Regions from separate parts of the Homo sapiens genome. Here region 2 is linked to region 1. Evidence: promoter capture Hi-C in human tissues and cell types (Jung and others, 2019). All regions are on one chromosome and are shown on one strand. The core of a region is centred on a gene start or on the middle of the fragment in contact, and the rest is flanking DNA. Distances in the headings are between cores, read along the strand shown. Region 1 holds the start of COLGALT1 (collagen beta(1-O)galactosyltransferase 1). Region 2 holds the start of SUGP2 (SURP and G-patch domain containing 2).

Evidence for each region. Contacts are between HindIII fragments. The study calls those that stand out against the background at their distance.
Region 2: a contact is called between the fragment with the promoter of SUGP2 here and the fragment with the promoter of COLGALT1 in region 1, in 1 of the 25 tissues and cell types used here (lymphoblastoid cells).

What each region holds. Positions count from the first base shown.
Region 1 is chr19:17,553,621-17,557,928 of GRCh38, reverse strand. COLGALT1 (collagen beta(1-O)galactosyltransferase 1) reads right to left here and starts at 2,280. Exons shown (of 12, transcript NM_024656.4): 1 at 1,956-2,280. The coding sequence starts at 2,215. It overlaps NIBAN3 (niban apoptosis regulator 3), which reads right to left. Exons shown (of 15, transcript NM_001321827.2): 15 at 4,289-4,308. RefSeq lists a silencer at 2,113-2,202. The HindIII fragment of the contact is 12,267 bases long and covers 1-4,308 here.
Region 2 is chr19:19,031,749-19,036,029 of GRCh38, reverse strand. It overlaps SUGP2 (SURP and G-patch domain containing 2), which reads left to right and starts at 2,513. Exons shown (of 11, transcript NM_001017392.5): 1 at 2,513-2,593. It overlaps ARMC6 (armadillo repeat containing 6), which reads right to left and starts at 2,427. Exons shown (of 9, transcript NM_001199196.2): 1 at 2,100-2,427; 2 at 1,792-1,899. The coding sequence starts at 1,820. RefSeq lists silencers at 2,424-2,853, 3,274-3,353 and an enhancer at 3,280-3,781. The HindIII fragment of the contact is 6,904 bases long and covers 1-4,281 here.

The DNA.
Region 1 (4,308 bases), core at 1,031-3,530:
AAAAATGAAATGTATATATCAGAAACCAGCTGGGTGCAATGGCTCACGCCTGTAATCCCAATATGTTGGGAGGCCGAGGTGGGCAGGTCACTTGAGCTCGGGAGTTCGAGACCAGCCTGGCCAATAGGGCAAAACCCCATCTCTAGAAAAAATACAAAAATTAGCTGGGCGCAGTGGCATACGCCTGTAGTCCCAGTTACTCAAGAAGCTGAGGCAGGAGAATCACTTGAGCCCAGGAGGGGGAAGTTGCAGTGAGCTAGGATTGCACCACTGCACTCCCGCCTGGGCGACAGATGTAAAACCCTGTATCAAAAAAAAAAGTATATCTCAGCAGGGCGCTGTGGCTCATGCCTGTAATCCCAGCACTTAGGGAGGCCGAGGCAGGCAGATCATGAGGTCAGGAGATCAACACAAGCCTGGCCACAATGGTGAAACCCTGACTCTATTAAAAATACAAAAATTAGCCAGGCATGGTGGTGCGCACCTGTAATCCCAAGCTACTCGGGAGGCTGAGGCAGGAGAATCACTTGAACCCGGAGGCGGAGGTTGCAATGAGCTGAGATCGTGTCACTGTACTCCAGCCTGGGCGACAGAGCAAGATTCCGTCTGAGAGAAAAAAAAAAGTATATCTCAAAGTATATCTCATAAATCCCTTACCCTGCCTTCATCTTCTCCTGTGAGCCACACCACTTCAGTGGGCTGCAGTCAATTATTCATTCAACAAACATTTGTTAAGTACCAATTGTGTATTTGGATTATCCAGACTGAGAAATCAGGTGGAAGGAAAAGCGACATTTGGGAGTTTAGTTTGACCGTAGTGCCAAAAGCTAATTCTGCCCAATAAATTAAGTTGACAATAACACCAGCAATGACAGTAATCATGATAATAAAATCACTGAGAGCCAAGCCCATGCCAGACCCAAGGGCTCCACATCCATTAACTGGATAATCTTCAGAGACAAACCCAAAAAGAGAATTATATTAATACGCTCATTTTCTTTTCTTTTTCTTTTTTTAGAGGCAGGTCTTACTCTGTAGCCCAGGCTGGAGTGCAGTGGTGCAATCATAGGTCACTGCAGCCTCGAACTCCTGGGCTCAAGCGATTCTCCTGCGTCAGCCTCCTGAATAGCTGGGACTACAGGCACACACCACCGCACCTGGCTAATTTTTGTATTTTTTTTCTAGAGACGGGGTTTTGCCATGTTGGCAAGGCTGGTGTCGAACTCCTGAGCTCAAGTGACCCGCTTACCTTGGCCTCCCAAATTGCTAGGATTACTGCGTGAGCCACTGCACCCGGACCCATTTTCCATTTGAGAAAACTGAGGCAGGGAGTGAGAAGTCACCAGTCAAAGGTTTCTTCAGAGCTCTGCCCCATTCCCTACCAAGAAAGCATCCACTTCCTCCTGGGCCATCTGGTCCTGGACTCCACCCACGCCGGTCTGAGGGCAGGGGTTTGACTGGGGCCTGGAGCCAGGCTGAGTTCAAGCTTAAGGGCAGCAGCCGGCACAGAAAGGCTTGCTGTTAGATGTGGCCTCTGGCAACGCCCCAGTGGGGGCTCTGGGCTCCGTCCTTTGGAGGTGTACGTGCCCCAGAGGGAGTTAGAGCCCCAGTTAGTGAGGCCGGAGCTGCCCTAGTAGGGTCCAGCAGGCAGAAGCGGTGCCCAGCCCACCCCAAAGGAGCCAGCAGGAGGAACTCGGTCCCGCTTGTGTTGTGGGGAGGGCTGTGTCTGGCCCCATGGGAGGACAGCAGGCAGGGGGCACGCGTGGACCCGTCCCGATGGGGGCAGCGGGCAGGGGCATGCGTAGAACCGTCCCGATGGGGGTAGCGAGCAGGAAGCACGCGCGGACCCGCCCAGAAGAGGACAGCGGGCAGGGGCTCGCGTGGACCCACCCCTATGGGGACAGCAAGCAGGGGCTCGCGTGACCCGCCTGATGGGGACAGCGGGCTCGACTCACCATAGCGCCGTGCGCTCCCGCGGGTGCCGCAGCCGCTCGAGTGCGCCCAGCGTGGTGGGCAACGCGTGGGCCGCGTTTCGCGCCAACAGCGCGATGAGCACGCGCGGCGCCTGCAGGGGCGACTCCGGGCTCCAGCGCTCCTCGGGGAAGTAGGCGTCGGCGCCCGGCGGGGCCCCCGGCGGCAGTGGCGCCAGCAGCAGAAGCAGCAGCGCCAGGAGCGGCTGCCCGCGCCGCCGGCCCGCGCGTGGGGCCGCCGCCATCGCGCCACGCGTCTCCTTTAAGTCGTTTTTCTGCGGGAGGACTCTGGCCGCGCCTTAAAGGGGTCATAGGGGCCCCGCCCGGCCGCGCGCCTTAAAGGGGAGGAGCGCGCCGGGCGTGAAGTCCAGGCCCCGCCTCCAGACGCTCTCCGAGTCCCAAGGCCCGGAGTGACGTCACCTGCAGCCCTACCCAGGACGCCCCGCCCCCGCACCGATCTTAAAGGCACATAGCGCTCGGAGCGCGTGGAAGGGATGTTAGGGGTAGCGTTAGGGTTAGGAACCCGCGCTTCCTCCAGGCGCCTCCTACCACTGAGACCTCCGCCAGATGCGCCGCCCAATTTCCCCATGTATAAAACCCGGGCTGTGCCACCAGGCGGACTTGGCTACTTAGGACCTGGTTTGGGACCCAAGAGACCTTAGCCTCAGTTTCCTCTGCTGCAACGTGGGTTTTGCCATCCTGGTTTTGGATCTCACAGGGATGTCATTGAGGGTTGTGGAGAATAAAGGTCATGACGTCCACAGACCTGGCGTCACATTCAGTCCCCGCCTTGGGCTTGCTATATGTGAGCCTCAGTCTGTCCATCTATAAAATGAGATCATAGAGACCCTATAGGGTTGGCGTGAAAATAGAGCCAGGGCATGATAATGGACCGTTCTGGGCACAAGCTCTTCCAGAGACAAGGGCCATGTTTTCATGGAAACGCTGTCAAGGGATTGTTTTCCAATACTCTAGAGCCGCATTTTCAAATTGATTGACTTAGTATCACACTTTTTTTTTTTTTTTTTTGAGACGGAGTCTGGCTTTGTTGCCCGGGCTGGAGTGCAGTGGTGCAACATAGCAAGACCGTGCCTCTATTTTTAAAAACAATAAAAACTTTAAAAAATACATCTGAACATTATTATTATTATTATTATTATTTTCTTTTTTTTTTTTTTTGAGACAGCGTCTCACTCCATTGCCCCGGCTAGAGTACAGTGGCGCGATCTCGGCTCACTGCAACCTCCGCCTCCCGGGTTCAAGCGATTCTCCTGCTTCAGCCTCCTGAGTAGCTGGGACTACAGGCACGCGCCACCACGCCCGGCTAATTTTTGTTTATAGTAGAGATGGGGTTTCACCATATTGGCCAGGCTGGTCTCGAACTCCTGACCTCCTGATCCGCCCACCTCAGCCTCCCAAAGTGCTGGGATTACAGGCGTGAGCCACCGCGCCCAGCTTATTATTATTTTCACAGAGAGGGTCTTACTCTGTGGCTCAGGCTAGAGTGCAGTGGCATGATCACATGATCATGGCTCACTGCAGCCTCAACCTCCTGGGCTCAACTGATCCTCCTGCCTCAGCCTCCCAAGTAGCTGGGACTACAAGTGCACTCAACCACGCCCAGCTAATTTTTAAATTTTTTGTAGAGATGGAGTCTCGCTATGTTGCCCCGGCTGTTCTCAAACTCCTGGTCTCAAGTAATCCTCCCCCTTCAGCCTCCCAAACTGCTGGGATTACCAGTGAGCCATCATGCCCCGCTAAAACTTAATTTTTAAGAATGATACAGGCCAGGTGCAGTGGCTCACGCCTGTAATCCCAGCATTTTGGGAGGCTGAGGCAGGCGGATCACTTGAGGTCAGGAGTTCGAGACCAGCTTGGTCAATATGGTGAAGCCCCCATCTCTTCTAAAAACACAAAAAATTAGCCGGTCATGGTGGCGCTTCGCCTGTAATCCCAGCTACTACGGAGGCCGAGGCAGGAGAATCACTTGAACCCAGGAGGTGGAGGTTGCAGTGAGCCAAAATCGCACCACTGCATTCCAGCCTGGGTGACAGAGTGAGACACCGTCTCAAAAAAAAAAAAAAAAAGGTAAAAACAAATTTACACTCTGTGGACTTGATGAGGAAAGGTCTTTTCATATTAAGTAAGAAAAAGGAGGTGACAAGATACATCCCATCCCATCTGGAAGGATTTAGACCCAAGGGCAAACAATGTTTTTCTCAAAAGGGGCAGGATGACAAATTCTTGTAGCTGCAATTGTTCCAGAATTAACATCTACATCCCGTCCGGGGTAAAAGGAAGACAGCTAAAGAAGCCTATGAAGTGCAAATGTATTGAG
Region 2 (4,281 bases), core at 1,264-3,763, 1.5 Mb before region 1:
CTGAGGCATAAATGACTATTCCTCTACCTGCCCTGTACCCCATATAAATCGTGTATTCTGTGAAAGGCTGACCAAAGACTCAAAAGAAAGCAATCATTTGTCTCTACCTGTGACCATCTTACACATATTCATTTATATCTCACGTCTCCCTAAAATGTATAAAAGCAAGCTGTGCCCCAACCACCTTGGGTACATGTTGTCAGGACCTCCTGAGGCTGTGTCACAGACATGTCCTTAACCTTGGCAAAATAAGCTTTCTAACTGATTGACACCTGTCTCAAATACTTCGGATTCTCAGTCCTCTGTGGAGCTTCTGCCAGCCCTTCCAGGTGGCTGCCTTTCCTGGCCACTCAGAGAGCCCACACTCTCTGGCTTCACTCCCCAACCCACAACCCCTCCCTTCCACCCACCCCTGAGCTGACTGAGTTGGGAAGGTCTGGCTCTGTGACCACCCCTGACCTGAGTCCTCCAAGGTCCCCTAGATCTGGTACAGGGCTGAGTTGGAGGAGGAAAGTACAGATTTGGAACACATAAGATGGTGCCTGGAGATGGCCAAGTAAGAATTACCTGGAGAACAGCCTAGGCTAAAAGGGGGAAGCAGCATTACCAGTCCCTATTATCCATCAGGGCATGCTGAGGGTAAAACAGAAGATGAGTAAGGCCCCTAACTGGCAGCCAGTTTCCTTCTCTCAGCCAGGAATCTGCTCATCAAGAAAACTGTGCTGTCCAGGTGCGGTGGCTCAGGCCTATAATCCCAGCGCTTTGGGAGTCTGAGGCGGGTAGATCACTTGAGGTCAGGAGTTTGAGAACAGCCTGGCCAACATAGCAAAATCCTGTCTCTACTGAAAATACAAAAAATTAGCCAGGGCCGGGCACGGTGGCTCACGCCTGTAATCCCAGCACTTTGGGAGGCCGAAGCGGGCGGATCATGAGGTCAGGAGATCAAGACCATCCTGGCTAACACGGTGAAACCCCGTCTCTACTAAAAAAATACAAAAAAACTAGCCGGGCGTGGTGGCGGGTGCCTGTATTTCCAGCTACTCGGGAGGCTGAGGCAGGAGAATGGCCTGAACCCAGGAGACGGAGCTTGCAGTGAGCTGAGATTGCGCCACTGCACTCCAGCCTGGGTGACAGAACGAGACTCCGTCTCAAAAAAAAAAAAAAAGGCCAGGCAAGATAGTGCACACCGGTAATCCCAGCTACTCAGGAGGCTGAGGCAGGAGATCGCTTGAACTCCTTTTGACTCCGTTTCAAAAAAAAAAAAAATACAAAATTTAGCCAGGTGCGGTGTTGCGCACCTGTAGTCCCAGCTACTCGGGAGGCTGAGGCAGGGGAAGCCCTTGAACCCGGGAGGTGGAGGTTGCAGTGAGTCAAGATCATGCCACTACACTCTAGCCTGGGCGACAGAGAAAGACTCCGTCTCAAAAGAAAATTAAACGTGTGCCATGACATGCTGGGGACTCTAAAAGACTCCATCCACATGTCCCTCTACCAGCCACACCCACTCTGGTTCAAACACCAGCCTCCCCTAAGGGCGGCGTCACCTGCCACTCCCAGAGCCTAGACTCCACCTCACTCACGTGCTCAAAGCCCGGTAGTGGCTTCCCAACCCTCTCAGAACAAAACCCAGCCTCCTTATCCGCACCTTCTCTATCTAAGCCTTCCAAGTTCCTCTTCCCCGCCTTTCTCATCCTTCCCAGCACTCAAGAGACAGCCTTCAAAACCACTTCTAGATAAAGAGCAGCCCTGCTTTCCCGTCCCATCACTCTGTTATTATTTGCACACCATTACCTGTATCTAGAGCAACATCGTTCACTCATTTATTTGTACCCTGTAGCCTCCTTGTCCCCACTGCCTAGGACGGGGCCCGACACGCAGCAGGCACTCAGTGCACAGGTGCTGAATGAATAAATAAAATGAATGAAAATAAAGCGAATGCCAGGGAAGCCGAGGATTTTGTCCCCAGGCGGCTTCTGTAAAATTCTTTCATTTTTTTTTTCCCCCCAAACCACGTACCCGAGGGTCGCGCCAGCCCGACCCTGCGGCACCCCCACTCCCCACTCCGCGCGGGACAGGCCTCGGCAGCCGCAGCGTCTCACCCGGTCTTCGCGGCCACGTGGGGAAAGGTGGGGCGCGCGGTTGTCACCCAGGGAGCCGCCTCTAGCCCCTTCCGGCCGCCGTACGCGCGCAGGCGCTGTGGCGCCCCTAGGCTTGGCCTCCCAGAGACTCGCGGACGCTCACGATAACCAAGGACGACCGCGAACCAAGGTAAAGCCAACGAGGCCACCTCGTGCGCGACGGAGGCGTCTTTGCCGCCCCTTCCGGGACGCTCACGGTGGTCGCCGCCCCCAGCAGGGAAATGTTTTGCCTCCAGAGCGTCCGCCCAGAAGAAGCGGACAGCGCGCTTGCGCAAGAGAGCCGGGCCGCGGCGGCCCGCGCCTGCGCACCAGGACTCGGCGGCGGCTTGCGCCTGCGCGGCGCGGCGCTGCGGAGACCGTTGGTTCATTTGCATGTCCCCGCCTCGCGCGGCGGCGGCGGCGGGTGAGGAGCCTGAGGCGGCGGCGGGGGTGGCTCCGCGCGCGGTGGTCTCGGGGTGAGGCCCGGGCCCTGGCGTCGTCGGTGGGTGGCTCCCGGGGTGGGAAGCTCGGGCTCGGCCTTGGGGGCCCGCCCCGGGCTCCGTGATGGCGTCGCAGGCTCGGCCCTCTGGCTGCGGCGGCGGCCGCGTCCCCGCCGGGTTGGCCTGGGTGGCCGGCTGCGGCCTCCCGGGCCCGGCGCCCCCATTTCCTCGCCCGCAGAGGCCGGGAGACGGCGGGCCGCGTCCACAAAGGCTCATTGGTTCAGTCGTTCATTCATTCCTCCCGAACTCGGAGCGGCCCCCGCTCGGGAGGAGATAACGGCGCCCAGCGCTGCATCGGGCCCTTGCCCTCTTTAGAACCGGTTCAGCCCCCACACCAGCCCCTTTACTGGCTGCCCATTCCATAGGTGGGGAAACGGAAGCACAGAAAGCTTAGAATCGTGTGATTTGAACCTGGGTCACCTGACCCGGGAACCCTGCCCTTTGCCAGCAGAGAACAAGGGGGCGCCCCGGGAAAAGGGCTGAAGGATGGGACTGGGGGAGGCGGGTGGGGGAGGCGGTGATCGTGATGGGAAATGGACCCTACGGGTTGTCTCTTGAAGTTGGAGGTTTTGCGAAGCGGGATATCTTGATGGTTAAGGATGCAGCCCCTGGACCCCAAAATGTTGCTTAATCTTTTTACTCATTCTTCGGGGCTTTGGATGCACGAATACCCTTTTTGCCAGGTTCAAATCTGGGCTGTCTGGTCTTGAATGGGTCGTTGAGTCTGTCTCCCTTTGCCTCCTCACCCTAATGTCATTCATAACAGGACCCGCCTCTTCAGTGGGTGGTTGGGAGATCGCGCAAGGACCCAGCGCAGAATGAACTGTCACTAGTTCATTGTCATTGGTTGGGGGTCCCGCCACTCACTGTCAAGAGGCTTCTTTTAGAAGGGAAGGAAGTTCTCAGAGCCTCTGTGCCCTGCTGAGTCTGTGAATGGGAAAAGAGTGATCCTGGGCCAGGCGCAGTGGCTCACGGCCTGGAATCCCAGCACTTTGGGAGGCCGAAGCGGGCGAATCACTTGAGGTCAGGAATTCAAGACCAGCCTGGCCAACATGGTGAAACTCCATCTCTACCTAAAATATAAAAATTAGTCGGATGCGGTGGCGGACTCCTGTAATCCCAGCTACTCAGGAGGCTGAGGCAGGAGAATTGCTTGAGTCCAGGAGGCGGAGGTTGCAGTTAGCCGAGATCATGCCACTGCACTCCAGCCTGGGCAACAGGGAGAGTCTCAAAAAAAGGAAGAAAAAAAAAAAAAAGATTGATCTCTTCTTTCCTAACCACGATTTGCGAGGGTTGTGGTCCCACCCTTCCTACTCTGTTATGCTCAGTTATGTGTGTTGGTTGACACCTTCCTCCAGCAGATAGAACTGCTTTCACAGAGCTGCTTTTAATGGATTCCAAGGAGATGGGCCCAGAGAAGGTTTGTCTTGCTCCTTTTCAGCCAGCACACACCTGTGAACTTCGTGAGGGCAGAGACCCCCTTAAAAGAGTCCAGACAAGGTGGGCAGATTGCTTGAGGTCAGGAGTTCGAGACCAGCCTGGCCAACCTAGCAAAACCCTGTCTCTACTTAAAAAAAAAAAAAAAAAAGATAAATAAAAAGGGTCCAGCTTGCCTCTGAAGTACCATGCGAGGATTATGGATTACTGCCTCCTTACTTCGAGGA